Regions from separate parts of the Homo sapiens genome. Here region 1 is linked to region 2. Evidence: promoter capture Hi-C in 16 types of primary human blood cells and fetal thymus (Javierre and others, 2016). All regions are on one chromosome and are shown on one strand. Each heading gives the region's core, a stretch centred on a gene start or on the middle of the fragment in contact. The rest is flanking DNA. Distances are from core to core; before and after follow the strand shown. Region 1 overlaps PSKH1 (protein serine kinase H1). Region 2 holds the start of AGRP (agouti related neuropeptide).

What was found. The method cuts DNA at HindIII sites, captures the fragments that hold promoters and counts their contacts. A CHiCAGO score of 5 or more calls a contact.
Region 1: a contact is called between a fragment that was not itself captured here and the fragment with the promoter of AGRP in region 2, in 4 of 17 cell types (fetal thymus, naive B cells, activated CD4 T cells and 1 more). The highest score is 6.8, in fetal thymus.

Annotation. Positions count from the first base shown.
Region 1 is chr16:67,925,245-67,927,944 of GRCh38, forward strand. PSKH1 (protein serine kinase H1) reads left to right here. Exons shown (of 3, transcript NM_006742.3): 3 at 2,081-2,700. The coding sequence ends at 2,398. Among named protein-coding and RNA genes, the nearest start is that of CTRL, 5.3 kb to the right of the region's middle. RefSeq lists an enhancer at 1,728-2,229. The HindIII fragment of the contact is 3,315 bases long and covers 1-2,700 here.
Region 2 is chr16:67,482,111-67,484,810 of GRCh38, forward strand. It overlaps AGRP (agouti related neuropeptide), which reads right to left and starts at 1,437. Exons shown (of 4, transcript NM_001138.2): 1 at 1,407-1,437; 2 at 1,159-1,291; 3 at 915-1,000; 4 at 461-708. The coding sequence starts at 1,288. The coding sequence ends at 526. It overlaps ATP6V0D1-DT (ATP6V0D1 divergent transcript), which reads left to right. Exons shown (of 4, transcript NR_184227.1): 2 at 2,000-2,218. The HindIII fragment of the contact is 2,406 bases long and covers 1-1,749 here.

The sequences.
Region 1 (2,700 bases), core at 1-2,500, 440 kb after region 2:
GAGTGCAGTGGTGCGATCTTGGCTCACTGCAACCTCCGCCTCTCAGGTTCAAGCAATTCTCCTGCCTCAGCTTCCTGAGTAGCTGGGACTACAGGCACGCCACCACGCCCGACTAATTTTTGTATTTTTAGTAGAGACGGGGTTTCACCATGTTGGCCAGGATGGTCTTGATCTCATGACCTTGTGATCCACCTGCCTCAGCCTCCCAAAGTGCTGGGATTACAGGCATGAGCCACCACGCCTGGCCCTCAATATGAATCTTGAACTACACAAGCCCCCAGGAGACTTACCTGCCTGTCGGGGAGGGCTGTTGCTCTCTGCGCCCACCCACAGCCCTTGGATAGTAAGGCATCTATGGGCCTTCGTTGGCTGCATGCTCCTGGACCCTGACTTTCCTCCTCCTGGGGGCCAGCATCTCCCCAGGAGTCACTGGGTGCTGCTGGCCCACTGATGAGGATGACCCTGTTAGGTGTGTTTGGGAATATGGTTCCCCTGTTGCTCCCACTTCAGCTCAGTAAAACTTGGAATAACCTTCCAAAGAGTGGGTGAAGACAGCAGCTGCAGGTAGCCCCAGGCCTTCCTCAGGACGGTGGAAGCGTGTTCTCCCTGCCTCATCCCTCTGTGGCAGTGGGGAAGGGGGTAGGGAAAGAGTTGGAGGTCAGGCGAGCCAGACTGGGAGTAGCAGTAGTCAGTGAGTGTGTGTGTCTGCTAGATGGCTGTGCACCTGCCCTGAAGGTGGTCTCTCAGATCCTCCTGAACCCCCTGGAGGGCATGTTCAGGGGTTCCTCAAGGTGAAGGGTACCATGGGTGGTGAAGGGTACCATGGGTGGAACAGGCAGACCTCACCTGGCAGGAAGGAAAGTGAGGGGATCGTTAGCATCCCTGTTGAGTCATCTGCAGCAGGCTCAGGAAAGGTCCTAGCTGCCTATCCTTGGGGGAGCCTCAGAGCCCGTGCCAGAAGTGTTCCTAGGAGATGCAGGGACGCAAGGACTCACCTGGCTGAGCCCCAAGGCCTGGAAGCAGCTCCAGGAAAGGGCACCCATCCGGCAGCACCGTGGGTTGTTTACTGTCTGAGCCTGTGCCTACTGAGTGCTTCCTGTATGCGCAGCACCAGGCACGGGCTCATCCAGCTCAGCATGATCTCATGGGAATACTAAACGAACATGAAATTGCAGTCTCACGTTACAGCTGGAATAATTGCTGGAAGCACTGGGGGCTAAGAGGGAGTCTGAGCAAGTGTCCTTTACCCTGAGAACCTGAGGATCCAGTCAGGTGAAGACAGCCGTACAACCTGAGGCCCTGAGACAGACAGCTGCTGGGTTCGGGGCTGAGATGAGGCAGCCCGGGGTGCATGTGGCAGAGTGGGCTTTATGGAGTTCCTCCCAGGGGACAGAATGTACTAAAATGAGGCTGGCGCACAGCACTGCCAGGAGCCCTTTGTGGCTTAGAGAAGTAATGCGGGCCAGAGGGTGCCACTGAGAAGGGTCCTGGTTCCTTCCTGGTCCCGGGATCGCCTGCCCTCAGCCGACTGGGAAATCTAGTTGCCTTGAATTGTTTCCTTTCCTCCCCATGCCGGGAGGCAGAGGCAGGGAGCAGTGGTCTTCTGCCACTGCTTCGGCAGTTGGAGAGAGGTTGGATCTTCTCTGTAAGGACTAGGAAGTTCCCCTTTAAGTAGCCTGATCCTGGTCATCCAGAGATTGGAGCTTCAATCTGACTTAGGATGTGGTGGGAAAGTTTGAATCATTCTCTAACAGTCCCCTGAGTTATGATACTCCTGGGACAAGTTCGGGGGGGTCTTGGCAGAGGCCATCTCCCTGAGCCAGGCTTTGGGTCCAGTGCACCATAGAATTTGCTCCCTGGGAGAGTGCACAGGTCCTTTCCTTCCTTGCCAGACTCCATCACCTGGAGAGCAGCCCTTGTTCAGCCTGAGCCAGCGTTGGGCGGGGAGGCCCCAAGTGCTACATGAGAGGAGGGGCAGCACCTCTCTCTGGAAAGGGGAGGGTTGCTGAGTAGTGGCCTCATCCAGATGGGGTGGGCAGTGTCAGATGCTCTCACTCTAATGCTTGTCCTTGGTCTCTAGCCCTGGCCTAGTGTGTCCAACCTGGCCAAGGACTTCATTGACCGCCTGCTGACAGTGGACCCTGGAGCCCGTATGACTGCACTGCAGGCCCTGAGGCACCCGTGGGTGGTGAGCATGGCTGCCTCTTCATCCATGAAGAACCTGCACCGCTCCATATCCCAGAACCTCCTTAAACGTGCCTCCTCGCGCTGCCAGAGCACCAAATCTGCCCAGTCCACGCGTTCCAGCCGCTCCACACGCTCCAATAAGTCACGCCGTGTGCGGGAACGGGAGCTGCGGGAGCTCAACCTGCGCTACCAGCAGCAATACAATGGCTGAGCCGCCTGGCTGTGCACACATGCAGCACGACCCAGCCTGGCCACACACTGTGGTGCCATCTGGGTCCGATGCCCTCTCTGGAGATAGGCCTATGTGGCCCACAGTAGGTGAAGAATGTCTGGCTCCAGCCCTTTCTCTGTGCCTTCAGCAGCCCCTGTCCTCACCATGGGCCTGGGCCAGGTGTGACAGAGTAGAGGTAGCACAGGGGGCTGTGACTCCCCCTGAACTGGGAGCCTGGCCTGGCACTGATACCCCTCTTGGTGGGCAGCTGCTCTGGTGGAGTTGGGAAGGGATAGGACCTG
Region 2 (2,700 bases), core at 187-2,686:
AACAAATCCCAGCTGTCTGCTTCCTTCCTGTGTGTCATTCGTTTGTTACTTTCTGGGTTTTGTTCAATTCTTTGTTCGAAACGCTAAGGACCTGAACAACGCACACTCCTGGCCTTCCCTCTGGTAACAGGATGAGGGGCAGGCTTTGCGTGGAAGTAGCAGCAAGCCCTGGAGCCTAAGGCTTATTTGTTAGCCAGGAGTGATAGCCCCTGTGCCACGCTGCGTCCTGCGTTCCCCGCACTTGCTGTACAAGATTTTCGAAAGCTGGAGTGCGGCTCTTCTCTATTTTTCCCAGGGGCACCAGGACCCCTAAAAGCGCCCGTGTATGTGCCTCCTATGATAGGGTAGCCCAGGCCCTGGGATAAGAGTATGTGTGGTTTCTTGGCTTGGTGACACTCCCACCCCCTCCATGAACCCTCCCTCCTTTGACGGCCACGTTTGAAATAACCACAGCCTTGGGGTTGGTCCCATCCTTTATTCGAGTTTCCTTGCCCCTACCCTAGCCCCGACCCTGACGTTGGCCAGCTAGGTGCGGCTGCAGGGATTCATGGCAGTACCCAGCTTGCGGCAGTAGCAGAAGGCATTGAAGAAGCGGCAGTAGCACGTGGCACATGGGTCACAGCAAGGCACCTGCTGTCCCAGGCAGGACTCATGCAGCCTTACGCAGCGACGTGAGGAGCGGGGCTCGCGGTCCTGCAGGTCTAGTACCTGCAGGGGTGGGGAACCAGCACAGGCCTCTAAAGACAGATCCAGGGATCTTACCTGTCCCAACCTGTGCAGGATGGCAGTGGAGCATGGGAAGGGGTGGTCGGTAGTGTCGTCGCTGGTGAGGGAGTTTGGAGCTGGGGAGAGGAGCTAATACCCAATGCCCCCTCCCAAGGGCCACCACCTTACCCTTTTCCCTGAGCAGTTACCTCTGCCAAGGCCTGAGCCTCCTGCAACAGATCCTCTTCTGCCTGTTCTGCAGTTGTCTTCTTCAGTGGGGCCCGCAGGCCCAGGCCTGGGGCAGAGGATGTGAGGGCAGGAACCCCCATGCACAAAGCACCCACCTCCCAGGGGAGGGTTTGGGAAGGGAGAAAGAGGGTTTATGCCAGGGGAGACTATTTGTGGCCAGAGGGTATTCAGGCCCCGCCCAGTCCCACCCTTGCTCACACTGACCTGGGAGCTCTGGGAGCAGGGCCTGGTCAGGCCTTCTGATGCCCTCCATGGGGGCCAAGCCCATCTGGGCTCCTCGCGTGGCAGGCAGTGCCAGCAGCAGGGCACAGCTCAGCACCGCTGCGGTCAGCATGGCCTGGCTCAGCAGGAAGATGTACCACTTAGTCCCTCCTTATCCTTGGAGTCCCCTCTAGGTGCCCAGATAGAGACCCCACAGAGAGGAGGAGTCCCTGCCCAACCTGAGGACTCACCTCTGCCTCCGGGATTCTTGCCTAGAGAGTTCCCGGCCACCCCGTGCCCTTGGCTTATATGGCAGGGCCTAATGAAGGGCCACACGTGACTGATCCCTGCAGCCAGGCCGTGAAGGACCCTTCCTGGAGGGTGGGGGCACAGTTCAGGCCCTCACTCCCTGAACCTGAGCCTTTTGTTCTACAAGAGGAGTGCCTATCTCCAATTTGGGGTGAGGTTTCCAGGAGCCGATTAAAATTTGGGAGCAAGAGAGGGTGCCCAGGGTCCACAAATTTCCACAGGACAGGGACCTAGGAGCTGAGCAGGGCTAGAACCATTAGCAATAACAAGGCAGGCGGCCCTGAAAGCTTAATTTAATTTGTGGCCCCAGAGATGCTTACTCAACCCCTATGTGGCATGTTGTTTCCTGTGCTTCCAAGAATTCGGGTCAAGGACATTGGAGCGGGTGATGGGCCAATGGCCACTGTTGGGCAGGGGTAGGTGCAGAACCAGAACCTGGGTTTCTTTGGAGGGAAAGGGGAAGGAAAAGCCCACCTAACCAATCCTAGGCCCTCCTGACTACATTTCTGGTCCTCCCCTCCCTTTCTCCCTCCAGGTTTCTCCAAGACCGCCCACTCCTGCTCCTGTCCCCAAACCCCTTTCTGCCTAGGGTTCCTGGAAGCCAAGGAAACAGAACGAACTGTTCCCTGGGTGGGCGAGCCACTGCAGAGTACAAAGCTTTCAGGCCGCCTGCCTCATTAGCACTAATGGCTGCTCCCTTCCGCCCTGTGTCGTCAGGACTGTCTATGCCTGGTCTCATCAGCACAAGGCTGGGGTAAGGACTGCCCTTTTGTGGAGATGGCAGGACATACAGGACCCTGCTGCCCCTGCCTTCCCTCACCCCACTGCAGAGCTGTTTATCACACACGTGTCCATCTGGGAAAGGAATGCAGGCTGAATCAGCTTTGAGAGGATCGCAAGGCCCCAGTGCACAAACTGGGTTGGCACAAGGCAGTGGAAAAAAGATGAAGGGGGCCAGGTATGGTGGCTCACACCTGTAATTCCAGCATTTTGAGAGGCCAAGGTGGGAGGATCACAAGGCCAGGGGTTTAAGACCAGCCTGGGTATCATGGTGAGACCCCGTTGCTACAAAAAATAAAAAAATAGCTGGGTGTAGTGGTGCATGCCTGTAGTAGAGGCTGAGGTGGGAGGATGGCTTGAGCACAGGGATTCAAGAGTGCAGTGAGCTATGACTGCATCACCACACTCCAGGCTGAGCGACAGAGCAAGATCCTGTCTCAAAAAGAAAAGAAGATA